3 separate regions of the Homo sapiens genome follow, and all the other regions are linked to region 1. The links are contacts of gene promoters, found by promoter capture Hi-C in blood cells and fetal thymus (Javierre and others, 2016). All regions are on one chromosome and are shown on one strand. The core of a region is centred on a gene start or on the middle of the fragment in contact, and the rest is flanking DNA. Distances in the headings are between cores, read along the strand shown. Region 1 holds the start of UACA (uveal autoantigen with coiled-coil domains and ankyrin repeats). Region 2 has its middle 41 kb from the start of LINC02896. Region 3 holds the start of PCAT29 (prostate cancer associated transcript 29).

The links. The method cuts DNA at HindIII sites, captures the fragments that hold promoters and counts their contacts. A CHiCAGO score of 5 or more calls a contact.
Region 2: a contact is called between a fragment that was not itself captured here and the fragment with the promoter of UACA in region 1, in 1 of 17 cell types (naive B cells). The highest score is 6.4, in naive B cells.
Region 3: a contact is called between a fragment that was not itself captured here and the fragment with the promoter of UACA in region 1, in 1 of 17 cell types (naive B cells). The highest score is 5.8, in naive B cells.

Annotation. Positions count from the first base shown.
Region 1 is chr15:70,761,298-70,765,906 of GRCh38, forward strand. It overlaps UACA (uveal autoantigen with coiled-coil domains and ankyrin repeats), which reads right to left and starts at 2,261. Exons shown (of 19, transcript NM_018003.4): 1 at 2,033-2,261. The coding sequence starts at 2,110. RefSeq lists a silencer at 2,026-2,435. The HindIII fragment of the contact is 4,014 bases long and covers 1-3,622 here.
Region 2 is chr15:69,500,993-69,505,601 of GRCh38, forward strand. No RefSeq gene overlaps it. Among named protein-coding and RNA genes, the nearest start is that of LINC02896, 41 kb to the left of the region's middle. The HindIII fragment of the contact is 3,437 bases long and covers 778-4,214 here.
Region 3 is chr15:69,588,164-69,592,772 of GRCh38, forward strand. PCAT29 (prostate cancer associated transcript 29) reads left to right here and starts at 4,037. Exons shown (of 4, transcript NR_126438.1): 1 at 4,037-4,150. The HindIII fragment of the contact is 1,326 bases long and covers 1,984-3,309 here.

The sequences.
Region 1 (4,609 bases), core at 1,011-3,510:
GAAACACGGTGTCGATATTTTGTTGTAAATATTTTTATTCCTTTCCAATATTAAACCATGTGCTATATTACCTATTCAAAAAATAACTGTTTTTAAAGGCAAAAAGAAAAAAAAAAAGGGTGGCCCAATCATACAATAAATACATATACATGTGACCAAATCTGGGATTATGGTTTATAGATTGAAAAGCAGAAAGGGTCTATTTCTCCTGTACATGTGTTTTATTCTATCAATGCTTGGTTTGGTTTTATTCATCACTACAGTTTTATTTTAAAATTTTACAGAATTCATTCTAAGTTTTATTCCTCATTACGCTTTTATTTTTAAATTGTACAGAACTTATTCTAATATTTAAACAGAAATGTTTGCTTTTTCTACATAAATAGGTTAATATCATGTTTATCTTTATTATGTCATTTTGAGAAAAATAGAACGCTCAATTGAGTGCTAAAGATTTAAGCTCAGAGATATGCACTTTATGTTCCAAATGTATAAAATGCAAACTATCATGCTGATAATACCTACTAAATACTCTGCATTTCTAGAAAACTGGATAAAATTAAGGCATATAAACCTCCAAGTGGGATTTACATCCTTAGTGCAAATCAAACACAACCAGGGAAAACAAAGCTAATAAATCTAGAAACTTGTATCTTCTATAAGGCTAAAAACACAACTTGCATTACAGAAGTAGAATCTTAACTGTAATGAACTCCAATATCACTAAATGACATTTCTGCCAGTTACTTTTTTTAAAAAAAAAAGTGAAACAAAGTAATCTCTGTTTTCCATGAGCTTATAAAACGACTTCATGCTTTATCAAAGAACATCAATTACGTCATCTGAATCTACTCTCTTTTTTTGAAATAGGAATTTAAGTCTAGGTAGTTCCTCCACAATTTCCTTTATGTCCAAGTAAAATAATCCTCGATATAGGTGGAGAGAAAGGCATAACTGAATTAACTCAAAAAAGCAGAAGCAGATTAATTAGTATTCTGATAAAAAGAATATAATCATTTGGTAAAATCTGCGTTGAATTGTAAAGGTTCATTTTAATTACCCCAACTAGGTAACTGTGCAGTTGGAGCATAACAACTCCTTTACGTTCGACTCTTCCAAGACTTTGTAAGTGGCACTTATTTTAATGATATAGAATTTTGATGATATCGCCATTCTTGTAACGTGACAAATTATCTAAATCACAACATCTGCGGTCAGGCTGTTTCTCAAGATTTCTGTTCTCCTGCCAACTAAAGAGGCCCCGACTACTCCTTGGCGCGCACACTGAGGCCGCGCTGCAGGTCAGCACCGAAAGAGCCCCGCACGGATCCCGCCCCACAGGTGCGATTTACACAACCCACATCACCACCACCCCTCCCAACTTCACCACCTCTAGGGTCACCACCCTGTGGGGTTTTGTCTTTACGACTAAGCCGATTCCCTCTGCCTCGCTGGGGAATCAAACTTCCCAGTGACAACGACAGCGGCCAGCACGGGACGTCCACCAGCCCGGCAGGGCTTGACGCTGTCTCAGACCCGGGGAAGGTCCGGAGTCCGGGCACGGTGGCGCGGGGTGCGCAGCCCTGCCCACCTGCCCTACCTGGTGCGAGCCCCGGCCCCGGGGACTGGGGAGCCAACACGGCCGAGCGGGCGTGGGCAGCAGGGCGAGCGCCGGGAGAGGAGAGCGACGAGGGGGGGTCAACGGAAAGAGCGGAGTAGGGGTGCCAATCGAGGAACTTTGGATTTAGGAGGAGGGGGCCAGAACCGCCCCACTGAGGTTTCTTCCAGAAGTTCGGAGGCTTGGGAGAAAGGGGTGGGGAAGAGACCCGTAGAGGCTCGGGTGCGGCGGCGGGGAGGATCCCCGGGGTCTCTGGGCTGACGGAGTCTCCGGCCTCAGGGAGGAGTCGCCAGGGCCGCCGAAGCCGAACTGGCAGAGGAAAAGCAGAGGAAGGCGGCGCGCGAACTCGCCAGCAAAGGAGGGCTGCGCTGCTCCCGGAGCGGAGCGCCTCGCAGCCCGGACCGCGGGACTCACCGCGCTGGCGGCGGCGGCGCCAGACGACGCGGGGCCGGGCACGTCCTGCCTCCTCAGGCGGGACTTGAGGCTCTTCATGGCTAACTCTTGCCTGGCCCCCGCGCGAACCTTAAAGGCTGCGGAGTGCCAGCGCGCAAGGAGTAGACGGCAGCGGCTGCAGCAGAGGCGGCGCGGGCTGTACCAGCCCCACCTGCCTGCCACCTGCGGGCCCCGGGCAGCAGACGTCGACAGGCCTGAGGCGGGGCTCCCCTCCCGTAGCCAATTGACCCGCTGCCCTGGCGGGGGCGTGGCAAACCGCGACCAATCGGAATGCGGGAATGGGGCGGGACTTCCCTTTTAAACTGAGTAACACCCTTCCTCTCCCAGCTGGAGGAAAAGTTTGGGAACTTTAGCCCGGGAAGGGGCGGAGGAGGTGGGCGGCCAGAGGCGTGGAGATGCGCGCAGGCCGGGCTCCAGGCCACCGGCGCCCGCCCACCCGGAGCTTAAGATCTAGAGAGAGCACGGGGTCCCGCCTTTGCCACCTCTCATCTTCCCGGACTCCCCTCCTCTTTCCACCCACGCGCTCTTTACCAAGTAAAGTTCCTTCCCTTCCGTCTGGTCTTAGAAATGACTCTTGGTTACCTGCACACAGAACAGCTTTCAGGAGCAACTTCTTTTCAGTCTCCTGTTTTACTACCAAATCCTGGTGCCTGGAAACCACCACACGCATCAAAAATTCCAGAAATAAACAGTCTCTAAGAAATAAGGTGCTGATTGTGCAGAAAAACGTACAGTTAAGAAAGACCTTGAAAGACGTTATAGTAAGTTACAGTACAAGTTACGTGCTCGTTTATTTGTTGAGTGAAGAATCCGCCGTATTGGAAGCAAAGGGACGGAATGGGGGCGGGGAGGGAGGAGAAGAGGTGCCATCAATTAAAAATGACTCCCACAGCCAGTGATTTAAGTTGTCAAAAAAAGTTACGCCCTTTTTTCTTCAAAAAGGTTTTTTGTTTTCTGTAGAAACACATTACATGTAAACGTATACGATGAAGTTAAATCATCTTACCTAGAAATCTGGGTTAGTAAAAATTATTTAAGAGGATGAAGAAACAGGAAGGTGCTCAGCACCCAATAATTTGCTGTTCGGGTGACATCTTCAAAAGTCTTCTTTGGAGTCATTTTTCCCCCCAGCAAAACGTTTATCGTAGCATGCATCCATTTGAAAAGACAAACGGTCCACATTTTCTGACTAACAAAGGACTCTTTTTTGTCTGAAAGGTCAGTTGCTCTCTTTAGAGTTTCTTTATAGTAACGCAAGGTTTTCTTCAAATACTGTAAGAAAGTTTTCAGAATTTCTTGGAGAGGCAGCATTCAAAGACTGTGTTAACCCTATACAACAAGTAAATAACAACTAACTACCCAAAAATATTATTAAATTTCATCTTGATTAGATCTTTGGAAGAAAATTTTCTTTGATTCCTCCCCCTTCCTCTAGATCTCCAGTCATTTAGTTCTTGTTGGCTCTTTAAAGTGTCTGTGTATGGTCAGTTACTCTGTTCTCACTGCCACTGCAGAGCCAAAATTACCTCATACCCGGACTATTATTACAGAAGCTTCCCAGCCAGTCTCCCAACCTTCAGTCTCTTAATTGTCCCATCACCAATAAATTATCAGCCATCATCAATAAGTCTTACAAAAATACTCCTCTTGCTCAAAAGCCTTCAGCAGCTAACGAATAAAATCTAATTCTTTGCATTTAAAGCTGTATAACGTGGACGCGACCCTGTTCTCTAGCCAACACCCCAAGCGAATTACTCTTCAGCCCATTCTCCAAACATGGGTCATGGCTTTCAACTTCCACATCTTTATGCATACTGATCCCTCCCCCAATAATCTTCTGTCTGTCTACATTCATCTCAGAAAATCCTACTCCCCCAAGAGTGATTGGTAGGGGATGTCGGGGGCTTCTGGAATACTGTACTATTCTCTGTGGGTGCTGGTTACATATCTAGTGTTTTCAGATTGTGAAAATTCAATGAGCCTGTACTGTATGCAATATATTCTCTTTTATGTGTGTGTTATGCTTTAACAAAAAGTTTGTTTTTAAGTGTATGTCCCTTCCAAGTGCCCTCCTCTCTATAGAACCTTCCCTGATCAAGTAACTGGAAGTGATCTCTCCATCCTCCAAATAGTTACAGCAATTATACCTCTCATATGATACTAACACATATGAGCTGAGCAAACCTTATTTCATTACTGGACTTCAATTTACTTAAAATTGGGGAATAACTGACATATATTTGAATTCCCTAGAATGCTTAGCATGTTATAGGTGTTTAATAAATATTTCTGAATGAATTGATGCATTCTTATTGACTACTATAGCAAATTATGGTTGTTTGTTCTATGTATTTATGTGACACAGGATTGGGATTCCCCCTATTGTGAACACAGATGGAATGATCTGAGGCTATGGTCCTGCTCAAATATTTGTGTCTCAATCAACTCCTTTCTCTGGGCTTAAGATAAGCACCCATTTACCATCTAGTCCTCTGACTGAATCTTAAATGTTAATTGCTTACAAGAGCACTGTCTCAG
Region 2 (4,609 bases), core at 1,246-3,745, 1.3 Mb before region 1:
AGGTGGATCTCTTGAGGCCAGGAGTTCTAGACCAGCCTGACCAACATGGCGAAACCCTGTCTCTACTGAAAATACAAAAATTAGCTGGGTGTGGTGGTGCACACCTGTAATCTCAGCTACTTGGGTGGCTGAGGCAGGAGAATCACTTGAACTCTGGGAGGTGGAGGTTTGCAGTGAGTTGAGATCGTGCCACTGCATTGAAGCCTGGGCAACAGAGTGAGGCTCTGTCTAAAAATAAATAAATAAATAAATAAATAAATAGTCTCAGAGCAAGAGATGCCACTGTCTCAATGATCTCACATGCCTGAAAGGGTGAAGCTATCTATATGTTTGCTGAGACCACTCCTGCTTTTGGAACTTGGATGGGATTGAAAGGAAGCCTGTATACCTGAGTGGCTTCAGCCTGGGAGACATTTATACAATATGACAGACTAGGCTAATTACTAATGATCATGTATGTTCTTTTGATGTAAAGGGCCCACGTTAAAAAACCAAGGGGTGACCTGTGGTGTTATGATGTATACATGTATTGGTTTTTGTCCACGGTTCCTGGCTTGCCGCCCCCAAAGCACTTGTTATAGGCTTAACATTGTGGGCATCAGGCCTCAGGAGCAGGACTCAGGAAGCAGAATCCCTCCGACCTTCTCCTGCCCTCCCTTCGGCAACCCCAAGCCGGGATGCTAATCTTCCCCTGTTTCTCCTGTTACACGGGTCATAAGACTCTCTCCTCCGAGGGTCCTGCTCTGTGCCCTGAGGGAAGGAATGGAGATGTCATGAAGCTTCCATAAAAACCCACAAGACCTGGGTTTGGAGAGCTTCTGGACAGCATGTGGCATTCCACATGGAGGTTCCTGAAGGTGGTGCTCCAGGGAGGGCACAGGCAGCTCTGTGTCCCCATAGCTTGCCCTACGTGTGTCTTTTTTATATTTTTATTTTATTTTATTTTATTTTTTTGGAGATGGAGTCTTGCTCTGTCACCCAGGCTGGAATGCAGTGGCACGATCTCGGCTCACTGCAACCTCTGCCTCCCAGCTTCAAGCGATTCTCCTGCTTCAGCTTCCTGAGTAGCTGGGACTACAGGCGCCCGCCACCACGCCCGGCTAATTTTTTGTATTTTAGTAGAGACGGGGTTTCACCGTGTTGCCCAGGCTGGTCTTGAACACCTGACCCCGTGATCCGCCTGCCTTAGCCTCCCAAAGTGCTGGGATTACAGGCGTGAGCCACAGTGCCCGGCCTCTTTTTTATTTTTTGAGACAGAGTCTGACTCTATCGCCCAGGCTGGAGTGCAATGGCGCCATCTTGGCTCACTGCAACCTCTACCTCTGAAGTTCAAAAGATTGTCCTGCTCAACCTCCTGAGTAGCTGGGATTACGGGCGAGCGCCTGTAACTTTTGTATTTTTAGTAAAGATGGCGTTTCATCATGTTGACCAGGCTGGTCTTGAACTCCTGACCTCATAATCCGCCCATCTTGTCCTCCCAAAGTGTTGGGATTGCAGGCGTGAGCCACTGCATCCAGCCTATGTGTCTCTTCATCCTGTATCCTTTGTAATATCCTTTTTAATAAACTGGCAAATGTAAAAAAGAAAAAAAAAGGAAAAGAACAAAAGAAAAAAATACATAGTTATGAACACAGACTTAGGCATAAAGTGAATGTGCTGGAGCTGCTGCTGCCCCCTGCAGGTCCCTCTACCGGGAAAGGTGATTGGAGTTCTGGGGGGTTTTGGAGGGGACCCTTGGGGCAGTGGCTATTTACTACCTGGTGTGGAAGCATTTTAAGATTTTAATGCTGAATGTGGCTGTACTGACATATGCATGGTAGCTGCACCTCCACGCTGGGTGCTGTGATGAAAGCGCCCTGCACTCAACCAAGGCACCCCCTGTAAGGGCAGCTCCTCCGTGCTTCCCATGCTGGCTTGTCCTCAGCTGAAGGTAGGCCAGAGGCGCTGTGTGGGCCGGGTGTGGTGGCTTCAGCCACCGTGGCAGCTGACGGAGATGGAGGCCGCCTGGGATGGGCCTATGGGTTTTTTATACTAGGGGGAGGTAGGTCTGCAGCAGAATCTCTGAGGAAAAAAAATTTTTTTTCCAGGAAATTAACAGAACAGAACTGTATTGCAAACATGATGAAGGGAGGCAGGAAGCTCTTTGTAAGTCAGAAAGAACCGGGACTTGGATGTATTAGAAGGGAATCCAGGTAGGCTGCTGTTTCCCAGCCTGCCTAGCAGCTAGTAGGGGGCAGGTGAGAGGAGAGAGGTAAAGAGAATGAAAGTCCAGCTTAGACTCATTTGATGTTAGAGTTGGAAGAGTCTCACCTCCACGTGGACAAACTGAGGCCCAGAAAGGCAAAGTGGCTTGCTTCACATCATGTAGCTTCCTATTTTATAGGCTCATTTGGGTTTTATATGTGAGTTCTTCTTTATAAAGTGGTTATGTGGAAGGATTTTTTTTTTTTTTTTGAGACTCTGTTACTCAGGCTGGAGTGCAGTGGTGTGATCACAGCTCACTGCAGCCTCGATCTCCAGGGCTCAAGCAATTCTCCCACATCAGCCCCTGTGAAGGGATTAAAGTAATTAAAAATGGGTACCCTTTGGGGTGATGTAGAAAGGGTGTTGGACTTGCAATTCTCTCACATTCCACTGGCAAGAACGTGGTCACACTCAAGTACAAAGGTGTCTGGGCAATGTAGTCCACAGCTAAGTAGCTGTGTGCCAACTACAATATTATTACTCTAGAGGAGCGAAAAGGATTTTGGTGGACAGCTGGCATTCTCTGCCACAAGCTAGAAAATGTGCACACACACACACAAAATCTTTAGGGTTGTGGTTGCCTTTAAGCTCTTCTAGGTTTGATTTGATTCAATATTAGATCAATAGTGACATACTCCAGGAAACTCAAAAAATACAGTAAGGACAAGAAAGAGGGAAGGATGACTCTTGTGTTTATCAGGCACCTGCTATGCTCAGCCCCATGCCATTGATTGAGCAAATATCTAGGAAAAGGCATCACCCCTCAAGTTTAGTTAGTCCAAAACACACTTGGCAAATAAACAGCCCCTAAATCATGTGTTGAAGACCAGGAATGCTGTAAAGATTCTAGAGAGGAAGGGATCAAGATGGACTGGGATGGTCAGGGAAGGAAGGTGCTCTTGAGTTGGCTCCTGGGACTTAACGAGATGGCGCAGATCAGAGGCAAGTTGTTTCAGTGTGGAATGGGGGTGGAGGAGAGGAATAACATCTATCGGGCACTTGCTGTATGCCATTAACAAGTGGTTTCAATTAATTTTCACAGTAACCCCAGTATCTCCCTTTTATAGATGAAGGATTGAAGTCATGACAGGCTAAGCTCTTGTCCCCACAGCTTGATTGAGGAGCTGAGATTCAAACCCCCGTCTAACCCCAGGGTCCTAGTCCTCACCCCTCCCTTTCCCCACTCCCCCAAACCATTTAGATCCAAATCTCCTGACTGTTTCTTAAATTAATGTTCTGTTAGCATCTTGGGCTCATTGTACATGTTTCTTAGAGGACACAGCTGGGTGACAGGACAAGGCTATGTGTGCTTGTGTGGGTGTCTGTGAAAGAGGAAGACAATTTTAAAATTACTGTTTCATTACATATGTCTCAGCATTGGTTAACTAATTTTTGCCAGGACCATCATTGATCAAGCAAATAAATTCAAAAGCCATTTGAGGGGGGAAGAAAAGAGGAAGACAATTCTGTTGGTTTCTAGCTGTTTGGCTTTGGATAAGCCATTTATCTTTCCTGGGCCTTAATTTTAATCTCTGAACAATCTGTTTCATTGTCCCTGCACAGAGTGTTTGGTGAGGTTTGGATGAGGTCACAGATGACCACATGCCTTGTTCATCACAGGGTGCTGTGTACACTGCCAATGTGCTGGTGGGCCCCAAAGGCCAGTGAGCTGTTGAATATCATTGGAAGGAAAATGGAAAGAACGTAGAAAACATCACCCCCACGCTGTGTAAAACTGGGTGTCCCTCAGGAATGCCTAGTGCAGTTGGTGTCATCATCTCTTAAAAAACACAGGGTACAGATGGCAGGTCGTGGAGGGCAGCTGGATGCATGCTTGGAACCTGGTGCTGCAGAGTGAGGGCCTCCCCAGTACCCAGGACATGAGCTCCTGTGATGTGGCAAGCTCCTTGAAGCATGCTCCTGGCCCTCTACTAGCTCCTGAAATGCTCTGCCTGACCTCCCAGCCTTGAAGCTTTGTGTGGTGGTAAATGTTACAACTAAACGGAAGATCTGCTTTCTACGGGGAGAGACAAGCTGTTGGATTTGTACAGTGCTTAATTATTCAGTCTTTTTGGTGATAAAGGACACAGGGCCCTGAAACTTTCTGCAGAAAATGGGAGCTTATGGTGAGAACTGGCAAGTCCAAAAGCCCAGAGACTGAAACTGCTTTTATTATTATTATTATTATTATTATTATTATATTGTTATTATTTTTTTTTTGGAGACGGAGTTTCACTCTTGTTGCCCAGGCTGGAGTGTAGTGGCACAATCTCGGCTCACTGCAACCTCTGCCTCTCGGATTCAAGTGATTCTCCTGCCTCAGCCTCCCAAGTAGCTGGGATTACAGGCACCCACCACCATGCCC
Region 3 (4,609 bases), core at 1,397-3,896, 1.2 Mb before region 1:
CAGAGATTTCTGGTTCCTTCCTGACATCCATGATTACCTTCTTCTTTTGTAATAACTCCTGATTTAACGAGGAAGAAACATGTACAGTTAAAAGACCACATTTCACAGCCTTCCTGGCAGCTAGGACGTTGCTGAGTAAGCCTTCCAGGAAATTGAGAAGGAGTCAACTCCTTTTTTTCTCTTTGCATTTTGTTCTTTAGACCTTTCCTTCATTTTACCCAGAACACAAATGTGATGGCTGGAGCTACAGCACCTATTTTGGGCTTGTGTGCTAAGGATATGATTGCAGAAAGATAGGAAACCCTGAGGACTTTGTGGGAGCCATCGTTCCCACCCTGGGCTGCCCATTTCTAGACTTGTTTTATGGAAGAGATAAAGCCTTCATTTGTTTTCATCACTATAGTGGATTTCTGTTACTGGCAACCAAACCCAATCCCAGTTGATAGGGGACTCCTTGTAGTTCTGTCATAGTTCATGATAATTATGGTCAGAATCATTTAATGCCTCCCTCACTAAACTGTGTGCTCCGTGAGAGCAGGGACCCCATCTGCCTTGTTTACTTCTGTATCCCCAGCAACCAAAACAGTGCCTGCCACTGTTAGTGCCAGTAAATGCTTAGTAAATCTTTTGGGGTGATTATATCCCAGTGAATACTTGGTGGTCTAGCAGAAGTCCTAAGGGATCATTTGAGGAAAAAGTGGCTCTGATAGTGGCCTTCATACTAATTGTGACAGGCTGCCCCAGCTGCTAGCAACTACCTTTCCTTTCCTGGTAAGTTGGCTCCTCGATATCATCATTTAAAAATCAAATTTTTGATGGAGTGTGGTGGCTCATGCCTATAATCCCAACACTTTGGGAAGCCGAGGTGGGAGGATCACTTGAGGCCGGGAGTTTGAGACCAGCCTAGGCAACATAGTGAGACCTTGTCTCTTATTAAAAAAAAATCAGCTGGGCATGGTGGCATGTGCCTATAGTCCCAGCTACTTGGGAGGCTGAGGTGGCAGGATTGTTTGAACCCAGGAGTTGGAAGCTATCGTGAGCTGTGATTGTGCCACTGCCCTCCAATCTGGGCAACAGAGAGAGAGACCCTATCATACACAAAAAATAAAATAAAATAAAAATAAAATTTAAAAAACAGAATTTTAATTTTTTCCAATATGAAAGTCTCTTTCAGGATATTCTTTTATAACCTCACTACCTATAATAGCTGCTTAAAAATACACAAAGAACAAGTAGAACACACAGGAAAACCAACTTTTTTCTTTTCACTCTCAGTTCTATGCAGTTGCTTTTTTCACATAGGCCCACATAAAAACTTGCATCAACCCCCACTCTAATATCATACTAGAATTTTCCCACTTATTAAAAAGTTGGACTGAGTGATAATTTTTAGTGGAGAGACTGCAACTTGTTTCCCATCGAGGAGAATTACTTGGCCTGTTCCCTCTTCATTTTGTACTTTTTGTTTGAACGATGCTATCATGAACCTCTCTTTGTGCCCAAAGCTTTTTCTGTACTTAGGATTATTTTCTTAGATAGATTCTCAAAGTGGAATTATTTGATCAAGGGAGGTATACATGTTCCAGTGTCATTTTGCAAAACAGGAATCAATGCACAATTAAGGGAATCTTAAGGGAGAGACCCACTCATTTTTTCTTTTTCTTTGGGCTCAGTTTCCCTAGCTGTAAAACTGAGCAGGTCCAAACATAGAGAGCTCTAGCTTCCCTTACAGGTTCGAAGTTCTGCTGATGGTTCAGGAATGAGGCTTCTGAGATCTTTCAGGGCACAAAGTCGTAAGACGACCTGGGTTTGTCAGCCATTGCCTCTGGTTCACCCTCTTAAAAGCTGACCTTCACCATGGGGAAGTGGGTCATTGGAGCCTCCAAGCTGTCTTCCTGTGTTTTCCTCACAATAATACTCCTTCCCCAGCTGCCAGCAAGCTTATGCTCTAGTGCAACCCTAACCCTTCTAGAGAGGGTGGAAAGCTTCATATCCTAGAGTCTGAGGGATGTGAAGTTGGGGATTCACCTTTGAAAGCAGTAGCAAGAAGAGGGCAATGCTTAACCCAAAGGGACACCTTGAAACTAGAACATCAGACCCCACTGCAGGCCACTGAGGGACCTCAGCCCACATGGCACGTAAACTACTCGTGCACAGCTGGAGATACCATTTATGCTCTGTGGCGAGGCTTCTCGGCCTTCTCCTCCGTAAGATCATATTACTGCACTTATTTTCATCTCAGTGACCTGCCAGACTGTGAGCTCCTTGAGGACAGTGATTCCTCTGATGTGTCTGCATCTGAGACACAGCAGGTGCTCACTACTTATTTTAAGTGAGCAAGAGAAGGGAGATGCCCCGATGTGATGGGAAGAATTCATGGCGAGATGGGGAGGAGAGCCAGAGCTCAGACAGGAAAGAGTGGGAGGGAACAGCTGACGGTGGGAAAAGTCCTGGGATGCTCCTTTCTCTGATTCAAGACAACATAAACTGAACCAACTCCCAGTCCCTGCAGCCTGGCCCTTCTTGTGTGTGCAGCTTGTAGGCCCTGAGGTGGATGTTTAGGGAATGAGTCCTCAAAGCATATACGTTGGCAAGGGTGGCAGAGCGCTGTGGGAGAAGGAGAAGCATGTGCAGAAAGAGGAGGCCAGGGGACCTTATGGCTCCTTTGTCCATCCACAAAGCATTAGTTTATTTATTCACTCATTTTTTCATCCAATATTTTTTAGCATCTGCTATGTATTATGTTCTGTGTTAGGTGCTGGGTGTTCAAGGAGGTAAATGAGAGCTGTGGTCCCTGCAAAGGCCAAGAGCACTCTGAGGAAACATCAGTACCTGGGGAGGCAGTGTGTGGTACCCAGCGGAGTGTGTGATGGGTGATGGGCATGGGCGGAACACTCACACAGAAGTGGCAGCGTGCCACAGGGGTGGCTGCAGGGGTGGCCATGCCTGGGGAAACGCGACTGCCTGGTTTGTCAGTGGGCCCTGTAGGACAGCAGTGAGGCACCTCCCAGGCAGCTCTGCAAGTGGCACTCCAAAGGAGAGCTGGAGAATAGAGGAGGGAAAAATGGGAATTCCTTGAGTCATAATTGGGTAGAGCTTTAGAAGGGGTTGAAGGTCATAAGTGGGAAACATGAGCCTAGAAAATATTGCTTACACATGAAAAAATGGCAGGCAGGATCAAACAGCAAATTGCAACCTGACATGCATGCTAGGGTCATGTCTGTGAAAATTCTACCTTTGGGAGGTAATGTGCCAAAAGAAAAAAAAAAAGAGACAAGAGAGAAGACTGTTGATTGAATGATGGGGGTAAGCTTATGGGTGATTTGTTAGATGGTTTTAAATGTTTAATCTTATTATGTAGTAGCTATAATCTTATCATTACAGTAGTAATACTAAAATTGAGGAGTAGAACAATGATAGAGTTTGGGGGGATGAGAGATGTTTTCTTGAGATTCATTTCACATAGTAAAAGAAAACCCAATAAAAGTAAGATGGAATGAATCCCCTCTACATCTTCTTCTGTGACTGGGTCAGGCAGCTGTGAGCAGCTAAGAGAAGCCCTGATCTTACAGGTGATTCAGCTCCACTTCCACTTCTTTTTGGGACTCACTGGGGATTATTTGTTTCTCTTAATGGGCAACAATTAGCTAATACCCCACCACTACAAGCAAAGTAAAAACTGGGCCTGTGTTAACAGTTCTCTTTTTGATGGGGTCATTGGTGTAACAGATAACTTCTAGCTGCATTAGGACTGGTAGCACATCAACATTGCCTCTCTGTTGTGAAAGGAAAATAGAAACGGCTAAGTCAACCATATATAAAGGCTTATATTTGCTCTTCAAAAGTTTTTTTTTTTTTTCAACATATCTTTGCTGGGGTTGGGCCATAGCTTGATGGGTATTTGTTGAATGACTAATTATTGACTTATAGGCTAACAGCCTCCTTTGAAGTAGGCTGAGCAAACAAACCATTAAGTGGAACATGGTGTCTAGGTTACACAGCTCACTCATCTGCTAATCACTGGGGCACACTGCTGGTTATTATTACCTGAGACCCTGAAAGGAAGCACTAAAGAAATGAAGACAGAGGAATACCAGGAGAGAAAGGAGGTCCAGTTAGACCTAAAGGTGGGCAAGAAGAAGAAGAAGAGGTGAGATCCTCAGTATTGAACAAGTACAGTGCAGCACATAGGTGATGTCTTAATAGGGGTCTTGGTCAATAATTGTTTGGTTGCAAGAAATAGAAGTATTATAAATTTAACTCTCAGTAATAACAATGATTTCGTTGGAAGGCTATGAGGAATCTCACCGACTTCAAGGGCAGGGATGACAACCAGACCCGTGAGAGGCTCAGAGACTTTCCTAGCTTCTTGCCTGTGTTTCTCTGGGTGTTTTTTTTTTTTTTTTTTTCATCTCAGCTTATCTCAGTAGCTTTGTTTCATTCTTTTCTCTGCAGACTGGCTTTCTCTGTTTTGCCTTTTCTTTTTCTCCTTCTTTCTTTCCTTCCTTCTCTCTCTCTTTCTTTCTTTTTTTTTTTTTTTTTTTTTTTTTTTGACAGAGTTTTGCTCTTGTTGCCCAGGCTGGAGTGCAATGGCACAATCTTGGCTCAG